2 separate regions of the Homo sapiens genome follow, and region 2 is linked to region 1. The links are contacts of gene promoters, found by promoter capture Hi-C in blood cells and fetal thymus (Javierre and others, 2016). All regions are on one chromosome and are shown on one strand. The core of a region is centred on a gene start or on the middle of the fragment in contact, and the rest is flanking DNA. Distances in the headings are between cores, read along the strand shown. Region 1 holds the start of MUTYH (mutY DNA glycosylase). Region 2 holds the start of AKR1A1 (aldo-keto reductase family 1 member A1).

Evidence for each region. The method cuts DNA at HindIII sites, captures the fragments that hold promoters and counts their contacts. A CHiCAGO score of 5 or more calls a contact.
Region 2: the fragment with the promoter of AKR1A1 here is called in contact with the fragment with the promoter of MUTYH in region 1 in 13 of 17 cell types (naive B cells, naive CD4 T cells, total B cells and 10 more); the score reaches 8.6 in naive B cells.

What each region holds. Positions count from the first base shown.
Region 1 is chr1:45,336,830-45,342,522 of GRCh38, reverse strand. MUTYH (mutY DNA glycosylase) reads left to right here and starts at 2,553. Exons shown (of 16, transcript NM_001048174.2): 1 at 2,553-2,624. It overlaps TOE1 (target of EGR1, exonuclease), which reads right to left and starts at 2,353. Exons shown (of 8, transcript NM_025077.4): 1 at 2,219-2,353; 2 at 1,308-1,450; 3 at 1,180-1,220; 4 at 954-1,050; 5 at 416-574; 6 at 1-139. The coding sequence starts at 2,270. RefSeq lists enhancers at 1,028-1,694, 1,993-2,342, 1,695-2,363, 2,364-3,031. The HindIII fragment of the contact is 741 bases long and covers 2,132-2,872 here.
Region 2 is chr1:45,547,243-45,552,935 of GRCh38, reverse strand. AKR1A1 (aldo-keto reductase family 1 member A1) reads right to left here and starts at 2,110. Exons shown (of 9, transcript NM_153326.3): 1 at 1,781-2,110. RefSeq lists enhancers at 1,638-1,857, 2,088-2,317, 2,368-2,427. The HindIII fragment of the contact is 4,529 bases long and covers 1,534-5,693 here.

The sequences.
Region 1 (5,693 bases), core at 1,304-3,803:
GACTCTCAGGGAGGTGTGCATAGAAGTTCTGGTACAGGAACACCAAGTCTATAAGGCCATTGTGTAGCACCAGGGGCCGGCGGGCTCGGATTAGCTCCAGGAATAGGGTCCGTACTGACTGGCTCTGGCTCTCATCACCCTAGATGAAAGTAAAGGGGTCAATGAGGAGGACAGAGTCCCCCAGGGAGCCTCTTCTGCTGGGCACTTATCCCAGACTTCCCCACTTGGAACGCTCTCTCTCTACCTTACCCAATGCTGCCCACCCTCCTCATACCAGTCTTGTTTCCCAAGCCCTGTCACTAGTGATTCCCCATACTCCCTAAGAAGCAGATTCTCCCCAGACATCCAGCCTAGGGTAGGAAGAAATAAAGTCACAGAAAGGGCAGACTCAAGGCTAGGGAGGCTAGAGGCCTACCTTGTCATTGCCCTTATGGTAGGGGATGCCTTGGGCATACTGCTGGTTGAAGTTGAAGCCATGCTGTATCAGGAACTGCACAGACTTTGGTTCTATGACATACTCCTCCATGCACAGCAGAGTGAGATTGAACACTTGAGCCAGATAGGAATGTTCACCCTGGGAGAAAGAGAAGTCTGCTATATCAAGATTTCAGAGAGCCAAGCTAGGAGGATGCAAAAGCTTAAGAATGATACAATGGACTCTGGGGACTCAGGGGGGAAAGGATGGAGGCAGGTGAGGGATAAAAGACTACGCATTGGGCACAGTGTACACTGGGTGATAGGTGCACCAAAATCTCAGAAATTGCCACTAAAGAACTTACTCATTTAACCAAACACCACCTGTTCCCCATAAACCTATTCAAATAAAAAAAAAAAAACTATCAAGTCAAAAAAAAAGATTTGGGAGAGAAATGCTTCCTATCTGATGTTCCCTAGAATCTCTCTACCCTCCACCCCACAGCCACACCTAGGATTGGGGTGAGATCAGCTCATACCTTGTCTGGCTGCCGCTTGAAGCAGGCGAGGCCCAGGGAAAGGATAGAACGGGTCCTGGCAGCATGACACACGGCCTTGTAACGTTCCTCAATGCACCTTGGGGTTGGGTATGGGGGTTGCTGTGGCTAGGAGTTAGCCTTATGAAGGACCCAAACCACCCAGGTCTGTGACCCCCCCACTCCACAGTTGAGGGCTGGCACTAAAGAGAAAAGGGCTTATACTTACTGGTTCAGCAAACTCTTCCTGTCCCCAAGCCCACTCAGCTCCTGTGGGTAGGTAAAGGGAGAGTTGTGACAGGCCTCTAGCACCAGCCCCTTCACAACCACCTGCCCTCCTTGTTTCCCAACTCTCACCGTGTCCACAGCCACGAAATTAGCTGTCTTTATGGCTAGCAGGAGGGATGGCCACATCTCCTTGAAGTTGTTGCTTTGCACATCCACTACGGGAACCTGGACTACTAGCTCCTCCCCAGATGTTGTGCTTTTGCTGACACCACCTGGGGGTTAGGAGGGTGATGGATGTTCATGCTTAAGGAAAGAGCCCAGGGGAACAGACACCAAGCTAGGCCACGGTGATGGTGGTAAGGGGGGTAGTTTCCATTGGTAGCTTTTCCCACAAGCCTTTGTAACCCACGTGTTCTACACACAGGCCTTGGAGTGGAGAATGCCCTGAATTTGGGGAGAGGAAGCCTGAGTCTTCTACTGGCTTGTATGAGCCTGGGTAAATTACTTCCCACCTCGCTTTCACAATCTGTAGAGGAGAAAGTTGGACTAGACGACCTTTGATTCTTTTTTCCCATGTCCTGCAGGAAACATTTTGTAGGGCTTGAGGATCTCAGCTCCCTTAATATCCCACAGGGATCCATACTACTGTTCTCATGGTGCCCCAGCGCCACAAGCAACAGCTCCCAGTAAGCCCCAGAGCCTGGCAGTGCCCCACACCAGAGCTCCCAATACGTCCTACCTTCCTTTGGATCACAACGCTCAATCCACTCCACTGAACTGAATCACAACTATTACTACTAACCGTTATGAGCTCCAGACTACATCTCCCGCCATGCCTCCATCAGCCCCATGCTCCCAACGCTCCAGGCTTTTGCAGCCGGAGCCGCGGTGTACAACGGAACTTGTAGTCTCCTCGTGGCTAGTTCAGGCGGAAGGAGCAGTCCTCTGAAGCTTGAGGAGCCTCTAGAACTATGAGCCCGAGGCCTTCCCCTCTCCCAGAGCGCAGAGGCTTTGAAGGCTACCTCTGGGAAGCCGCTCACCGTCGGAAGCTGCGGGAGCTGAAACTGCGCCATCGTCACTGTCGGCGGCCATGACACCGCTCGTCTCCCGCCTGAGTCGTCTGTGGGTACGCTGGACTTGCGGTCCGTCTCCTGGCGCGGTTCAGGCAGTCGGGGATGGGGCGGGGTCTCGCCGTCGGGTCGCCGATGGGTCGAACTTCCGTTCAGACGTCCCGGGTCCGGCGCGGGGAAGGCAGCCTGGCGCGCGCTAATTGCCTATTGGCCTGTGCTGCCGGCTCGCAGCCCGGGTGGACCCGAGCCACGCCCCCTGGAGTGCGCCGGAAAGCCGGGCGCGCTAGAGCTCGCGGGAGGTAATCTTTCTCTCCTGCTCTCGCGGCGGGAACGCGGGGCCTCCGTGTTCTGCTGTCTTCATCAGCGTGGGCCGCGGGTAGCGGGTAGTGGGGTGGCTGGGTTTGGGCTTTCCAGAGAAGGTGACGCTGCCTGAGCTGAGCTTAAAGCACGCCCAGGAGTTAGACTAGGAGAGGGTCGTGTGGGGGAAAGAAGGGCGTTCTGGGCATCGGTAAATTCCCAGAGAGGATGGAGAGCTCAGTGATCTCCAGAAAGTGAAAGAGGCGGGGAGTGGGCCATCGGAGGAGGCTGCCCAGGGTGTAAGAGCGACCGATTGGTAGGGAAGCTTTTGTAATAATCCAATCAAGTGATAATGTGAACTTGAATTAAGGCTGGCAGTATGGATGGCGAGGAAGGGACAAATTGTGAAGCAGCTAGGCGGTATAGTCGACCTAGAGGGTGATTGAATTTGAAAGAGGTTCCTAGGCCGGGCGCGGTGGCTCACGCCTGTAATCCCAGCACTTTGGGAGGCCGAGGCGGGCGGATTACCTGAGGTCCGGAGTTCAAAACCAGCCTGGCCAACATGGTGAAACCCCGTCTCTACTAAAAGTACAAAAAAAATTAGCTGGGTATGGTGCGGGCGCCTGTAATCCCACTACTTGGGAGGCTGAGGCAGGAGAATCGCTTGAACCTGGGAGGCAGAGGTTGCGGTGAGCCGAGATCACGCCATTTTGCACTTCAGCCTAGGCAACAAGAGCGAAACTCCGTCTCAAAAAAAAAAAAAAAAAAAAAATTCCTATTGGAGACTAGTCCCTCCGTAAACACTACGATTCCCATCCACCTCTGCCTTCCAGTGCTCCTTTGTTACTCATTGTTTATAGTTAATCTTCAGCTTCTCTCAACTGAGCCCATTTCATCATTATTCAGAACTGCTTGGGCCGGGCGCAGTGGCTTATGGCCTGTAATCATCTTAGGAGGCCAAGGTGGGAGGATCGCTTGACCCTAGGAGTTCAAGACTAGCCTGGGCAACATAGTGAAACCTTGTCTCTACAAAAAGAAAATTAAAAATTAGTTGGGCATGGTGGTGCGCACCTGTAGTCCCAGCTACAGGAGGCTGAGGTGAGAGGATGGCTTGAGCCCAGGAGGTCGAGGCTGCAGTGAGCCATGTTCTTATTGCACTCCAGCCTGAGTGGCAGAGCAGCAAAGTGAGGGACACACTGTCTCTAAAAACAAAACAAACAAACAAAAAAAAAACAAAAATAAAAAAACTCTTTGGATTTCTCCTATCCTAAAAAAGGGAAACTCTTTTGACTATCCCCCATCCCATTAATTCATTTAACAGGTATCTATTGTGTACAGTTTACCTGGCACTGACTTTGGACACACACCAATCAACAAGAGAATCAGTCCTTGCACTCAAGTCGTTTTTTACAGTCAAATTCAGGAAGTACACACTGATGGAAAGAATCAAAGTAATGTAAAATTACATTAGGTAAGAGCTACAAGGCAGAAATATGTGATAGGATAAGATGAGGGGACCTGATTTGGACATTTCAGTCAAGACTTGAAAAATGATAAGGTGTTAGGTAAAAGCATAAAAGAGTCCAAACAGAGGAAATGGATTGTGTGAGGCCCCAAGGTGGGCAGACACACTTGAGGTGTTTAAGCAACTAAATTCAGTCAACCTTGGCTAGAGCATAGTGAGGGGATGAGGCGGATGGTGCCCGGATCACTGGACCTGCAAGGCTGTAGTAAGAGGACTGCCTTCTAAGAGCAAGGGTGTGGCAGCCAAATCCCTCCAATGGCCTATAAGGTACTTTGTGACCCTCCTCTCCCCACCTCATCTGGTTTACTTCTCTGACCTCTTCTACCACTCAGTCCCATCTCATTCCATTCTAACCACATTGACCTACTTACTGTACCACAGACATACCAGGCACCCTCCTTGGGGCCTTTGCACTCACTTAGAATGCTTTGGGTCTACCTTGACCACAGTCTTTAAAATTGCAACATTAAACCCCACCTTGGCACTCTTTTTTTTCCCCTCTTGGTCTAATTTTTGCTTTTTATGCTAATATTTATCACCTAACATCTTATGGAATTTACTTATGTTCATTATTCCTTTTCTGTCCCCATTAGAATATAAGCTCCCTGAGGGCAGGAACTTTTGATGTTTTATTTACTGAAGTATGCCAAGTGCCTAAAACTGCTTGGCACATATTAGGGGGCTCTATAAATATTTGCTCAATCTTTTTTTTTCTTTAAGAGACAAGGTCTTGCTGAGCCCAGGGTGGAGTGCAGTGGCACAATCATAGCTCACTGCAGCCTCGACCTTCTGGGCTCAAGCTGTTCTTCACTTCAGCCTCCAGAGTAGCAGGATTACAGTGTTGAGCCACCACAACCAGCTTGCTCAAGAATTTAATGACCCATAGTAAAGGCCTACAGTATTTAAAAAAGAAAGAAAAAGGAAAAAAGGAAGGAAGGAAAGAGGGAGGGAGAAAAAAAGAGAAAAGAAAGAAAATAAAAGAATATAATGGGGTGTCACCAGGCGCCGTGGCTCATGCCTGTATCCCAGCACTTTGGGAGGCCGAGGCGGGTTGATTGCTTGAGCTCTGGAGGTGGAGACTAGCCTGGGCAACATGGTGAAACCCTGTCTCTAACAAAAATACAAAAATTAGCTGGATGTGGTGGTGGTGTGCGCCTGTGGTCCCAGCTGCTTGGAGTTGGGGTGGGGTATTGGGGTGGGAGGATTGCTTGAGCCGAGGAAGCAGAGGTTGCAGTGAGCCAAGATCACACCACTGCACTCCAGCCTGGGTGACAGAGTGAGACCCCATCCCAAAAAAAAAAAAAAGAATGGGAAACCATTGAAGGTTATAAGGAAGGAAGTGACGTGATCTGGAAAAGATTCCTTTGCTCTTTGGAGAATAGATTGTAGAATGAATGTGGAAGTAAGCAGGTTTGGTGAAGGAAGTTTGGCTATGAAGGGAAGGAGGGTGGGATTTGATTGTGTTACGAGCCAAGGGGAAAATCTTTCCCTTTGCCCTCTGAAGATCTGCTGAAAAATCAGCTCACAAAAGGCAGGTTAACTGGAGAAAAGGCATACAAATTTATTAACATGCACATTGGGAGAACCATAAAGTGATTACCCATCTCCCTACAGAGTTCGTGA
Region 2 (5,693 bases), core at 861-3,360, 210 kb before region 1:
CCAGGCTGGTCTCGAACTCCTGACCTCAGGTGATCCACCCACCTTGGCCTCCCAAAGTGCTGGGATTACAGGCATGAGCCACTGTGCCCAGCTGACCATCACTCTTTACTTAAACCACAGATCTTGGCTTCCAGAGTGGTCCCTCTTCCCGCAGTCCATCACCAGATCCAACCATGTGACTCCCAGTCTCAAACCCTTCCAGCAATTCTCCCCTATATTCAGGATAAAGTCCAGGCTTCTCAAAACCTGGCTTCTATCTTTCTCATTTCACCACCTCCTCATGTCAGACTGTATTCCAGACTTTGAACACTCAACAGGGTCACATCACTTACCTGACTCTAGGTGTGTGCACTTTCCTTCCCCAAACCCTACCTTTGCCTGGCTAGCTGCTGCTCATCCTTCAGCTAGCACTTCACATTTCTGGCTCCTTTCCAGGTGCAGTGGCTCATACATGTAATCTCAGCACCTGGGCAGGCTGAGGCGGGAGGATCACTTGAAACCTGGGCAACAAAAGGAAACACTGTCTCTACAAAAATTTGTTTTTTTCTTTCTGAGTCTGCTTGCTAGGGGGAATTTTTTTTTTTTTATTTTAAAGATTAACTGGGCACAGTGGCATGTAGTTTATAGTCCAAAGGCTGAGGTGGCAGGATTATTTGAGCCCAGAAGTTTGAGGCTGCACTGAGCAAGGATTCCACCACTACACTCCAGCATGGGCAAAAGACCGAGAGACCCCCATCCATCTCTAAAAAGAAAATAAATAAATAAATAAATGGATGGCTACTTCCATGTACTGATAGCATGTGCACATCACTACATTTTTCTGTTTATATATAAATTTCCCCCACAAACCTGGCTACTCCTTGAGGTCTGAGCCTGTCATCTGCCTGAACCCCTCACTCCTAGAGTACCTGTCCCATACATACATACATACATACATACATACATACATACATACAATGTACACAATACACACACCACACACACACAGCTTATGGGGGAGAGATCTTGACAGGTTGAGTTTGGCCAGCTGGAAGGACATTTGAGGAAGTCGCTGCCTCTGTCACCTTCTTCCTTTACCTGTTGGAAAACCTGAAAAGAATCCTCTTGGAGAATATCAAAGCACTTTACTATACTCGGCAAAAAATCCCAGTGGACCAGATAGAATCATACTGAGATTGCTCCTGTATTAAAGATAAGGAAACAGATCTTGGAAAAGTAACAGGCCTGCAGCCCTGAGTATGAACGATCTGAAGGGGAAGAGTTAATTAACAGTAGCCTCATCCAGTGAAGGTTCAGATCTGTGTCTTACTTTAACAGAGTTCTGGGGCAACAGAATAACATGTCAGACTTTCTCAGACCCAAAGCAGGTGTCTAAGTAAGAGAATTATCCCCACTTCTCCCCACTTCTGAGAACTATCCCTGCACCTGCATAAGAAAGCCGGAGCAGCTGGAAAAAGCACATAGGTGAGCAAACAAAAAGATGGCAATTAAAACTTGCAGATCACCTAGTATGCGCTGTGCGCCTTCAAAGCTTTATCTCAATTCTTGCTACAGTTCTAATGTAGGACCTCATTTTATTGCTGAGGAAACAGGTTCAGAGAAACTGGGAAGTTAGCAAGAGATCATACAGAGAAAAAGAAGAGCTCAAATCCGAAACCAAGTCTCGTCCCCTCCAGTGCTCTGCGCTCTCCACTCAACCCCAGGGGCTTACATTTCAGTAGTAAAGAATCGAGGCCATCTCCTCCGGGAGAAAGATAGGCCAGCAGCAAGAGAAACTCACCTTGGCACAAGCACAGAGCGTGAATAGGGTACTGTGGCCTGGGCTCAGTTCTGCACCCCGCCAGAGATCCAACGATCCTCAGCTTAAGTCTGGCGGTGAGGGGGAAGTTCCACCCGGAGGGAGGGGCAGGGGCCGGGCATAAAGGATCACGCGCAGGGTGGACCGCCTTCGCCGCCTCCCGAGGAAGGACCTGAAGGGGATGGAAAACAGAGCTGGGAGGTAGTACCGTCTCCACCTCTGGATCCTCGAGGTCGAACTGGCCGGAACTTGGTCACTCACTCCGCAGCGCGGGTTTGGAGAACTCCTGGGCACAATGAGGCAGGTGGCGCTGGCCACGTGGGCGGTGCAAGGGGCGGGGCCAGCCTCGCCTTTTGCTGGCCCACATTGCACCGCGCGCCTAGGCGCCGCCGCAGGCGCTTTTCCGGGGGAAGTAAGGTAGCAGATGCCACGTTGCAGGTTCTTCTGGTGTCGGCCCTCCGGATTCACAATGCCATCCGTGGCTCCATACTCTCCCTAAAGTCAGGTTGGCTGGATTCCCAAAGTTCACCTAAGTTGGCCCCGTTACATTTAGTTCAAGCAAACTGAGGCCCAGAGAGCAGCTGCAACACCAAGATTGGCCAGAATACAGAAGACCTCGCGTCTGCAGATCCAGGCGCTGGAAAGTGCCTGGTCCCCCTGTCTGGACCATAGACCCCGCCCAGCACGTTATGTGCCAGGCACTGTGCTTAACACTTAATAAACATGGTTTTATTGAATCTTCATAATAATCCTGGAAAAGGAATATTCCTTTTTTTTTTTTTTTTTTGAGACGGAATCTCGCTCTCGCCCAGGCTGGAGTGCAGTGGCGCGATCTTGGCTCACTGCAACCTCCGCCTCCCTGGTTCAAGCAATTCTCTGCCTCAGCCTCCCGAGTAGCTGGGATTACAGGCGCCCGATACCACGCCTGGCTAATTTTTTTGTATTTTTTAGTAGAGACGGGGTTTCGCCATCTTGGCCAGGCTGGTCTTGAACTCCTGACCTCGTGATCCACCCGCCCTGGACTCCCAAAGTGCTGGGATTACAGGAGTGAGCCACTGCGCCTGGCCGAAAAGGAATATTCTTTTATTTCGTACAAGCCTTTTTAAAAATCGTAGTATAGCATATATACAGAAAATACACCAGTCTTTTTTTTTTTCTTTTTCTTTTTTTCCTATTCTACATCCAGGAAGAAAGAAAATGTATAAATCTTAAATGTATACAGTTCTTTTTTTTAAATTATTTTTTGCAATGTAACTGCCATCCAGAGGAAGATATTACCAGCACACCATAAGCCTGTGAGGAAAGTATTCATAATCCATTTTACAGATTGGACAGACTCAGCAAGGTTAAGGCTATTTATAATTTTCCCAAAGTCACACAGGTATTAATTAAATGACACATCTGCGATTTGAAATAGTCTGTGCTGTTTGAGTGGAGAGGTGTCTTGCATGTATGTGTTTTCCTTGGCAGGGATGGGCAAGACACAGGGTTATCTCGGTTTGGCTCTGCTTTTCCCCACACCTTTACTCCCTGAGAGCAACTCTTCCCATTTCCCCACCCCCGTTATCCCCCACTGTCTCCCCAACATAAGTGATGTCCTGGTGGACCAAATGTCTAATGTATCAGGCCATCCTCATAAAAACAATCAGACTTGGCCGGGTGCGGTGGCTCACGCCTGTAATTCCAGCACTCTGGGAGGCCGAGGCAGGCGGATCACCTGAGGTCAGGAGTTAGAGACCAGCCTGACCAACATGGAGAATCCCCGTCTCTATTAAAAATACAAAATTAGCCGGGCGTGGTGGCACATGCCTGTAATCCCAGCTACTCGGGAGGCTGAGGCAGGAGAATTGCTTGAACCTGGGAGGCGGAGGTTGTGGTGAGCTGAGATTGCGCCATTGCGCTCCAGCCTGGGCAACAAGAGTGAAACTCCATCTCAAAAAAAAAAAAAAAAAAAATTCAGCTAGGCGTCGTGGCGCGCACCTGTAGTCCCAGATACTCAGGACGCTGAGGCAGGAGAATCGCTTGAACCCGGGAGGCGGAGGTTTCAGTGAGCCGAGATCGAGCCACTGCACTCTAGCCTCTTGACAAAGCGAGACTGCCCCTCAAAAAAAAAAAAAAAAAAAAAAAAAAAAAAAAATTAGCTGGATGTATTGATGCGAGCCTGTAATCCCAGCTACTTGGGAGCCTGAGGCAACAGAATCACTTGAACCAGGGAGGCGGAGGTTGCAGTGAGCTGAGATCGCGCCACTGCACTCCAGCCTGTATTCAAAAAAAAATAAAATAGGCCAGGCATGGTGGCTCACGCCTGTAATCCCAGCACTTTGGGAGGCCGAGGTAGGCAGATCACCTGAGGTGAGGAGTTCGAGACCAGCCTGACCAACATGGAGAACCCCCATCTCTACTAAAAATACAAAATTAGCCAGGTGAGGTGGCACATCCCTGTAATCCCAGCTACTCAGGAGGCTGAGGCAGAAGAATCACTTGAACCCAGGAGGCAGAGGTTGCGTTTGGCAAGATTGTGCCATTGCACTCTAGCCTGGGCAGCAAGAGCAAAACTCTGTCTCAAAAAAAAAGGGGCCGGGCGCAGTAGCTCACGCCTGTAATCCCAGCACAAGGCGGGCAGATCACGAGGTCAAGAGTTCGAGACCAGCCTGGCCAATATGGTGAAACCCCGTCTTTACTAAAAATACAAAAATTAGCTGGGCATGGTGGCACGCGCCTGCAGTCCCAGCTACTCAGGAGGTTGAGGGAGGAGAATCGCCTGAACCCAGGAGGCAGAGGTTGCAGTGAGCCGCACCACTACACTCCAGCCTGGGTGACAGAGCAAGTCTCCGTCTCAAAAAAAAAAAAATACGTAAAAGAAGAACCTACAGGCCAGGCACAGTAGCTCATGGCTGTAATCCCGGCACTGTGGAAGACTAAGAAGGGAGGATCACTTGAGCCTAGTAGTTCAAGACCAGCCTGGGCAATATAGTGAAACCTCATCTCTACAAAAAATATAAAAATTAGCTGGGCACGGTGGTGCACACCTATAGTCCCAGGTGTTTAGGAGACTGAAGTGGGAGGATTGCTGGAGCCCAGGTCTTCGAGGCTGTAGTGTGTCATGATTGTGCCATTCTACTCCAGCCTAGACAACAGAGCAAAACCTTGTCTCTTTTTTTTTTTCCCCTCAAATTCTTTTTACCAAGGACCCTGTCTAAAAACAAACAGGCCAGGTGTGGTGGCTCACACCCGTAATCCCAGGACTTTGGGAGACCGAGGCGGGCCAATCACCTGAGGTCAGGAGTTCGAGGCCAGCCTGGCCAACATGGTGAAATCCCATCAATACTAAAAATACAAAAATTAGCTGGGCATGGTGGCAGGTGCCTGTAATCCCAGCTACTTGAGAGGCTGAGGCAGGAGAATTGCTTGAACCTGGGAGGCAGAGGTTGCAGTGAGCCGAGATGGTGCCACTGCACTCCAGTCTGGGCGACAGAGCAAGACTCCATCTCAAAAATAAATAATAATTTTTAAAAAACAAAAAAACAGAAGTGAGCAAATAAGAATATAAGAACAACCACTTTATTGAGCATCCACTACTTACCATAGTCTTTATATTCATGTTGTCTGATATCCACAGCAGAAACTTTTGGATTTGGTGGACATGAAGATCATTGGTGACCAATGTGGAGAGCTCCTTCAGTGGAATGGTTAATCCTGAGCCAGATGACCTGAATTCAGGAATGAACAGGAGATGAAGACATGGAGAATCAGAGGAAGGACTTCTCAAGGATACAGTAAAGGCCAGGGACAGTGGCTCATGCCTGTAATCCCAGCACTTTGGGAGGCCAAGGCAGGCAGATCACTTGAACCCAGGGGTTCTCAAGATCAGCCTGGGCAACATGGTGAAATCCCA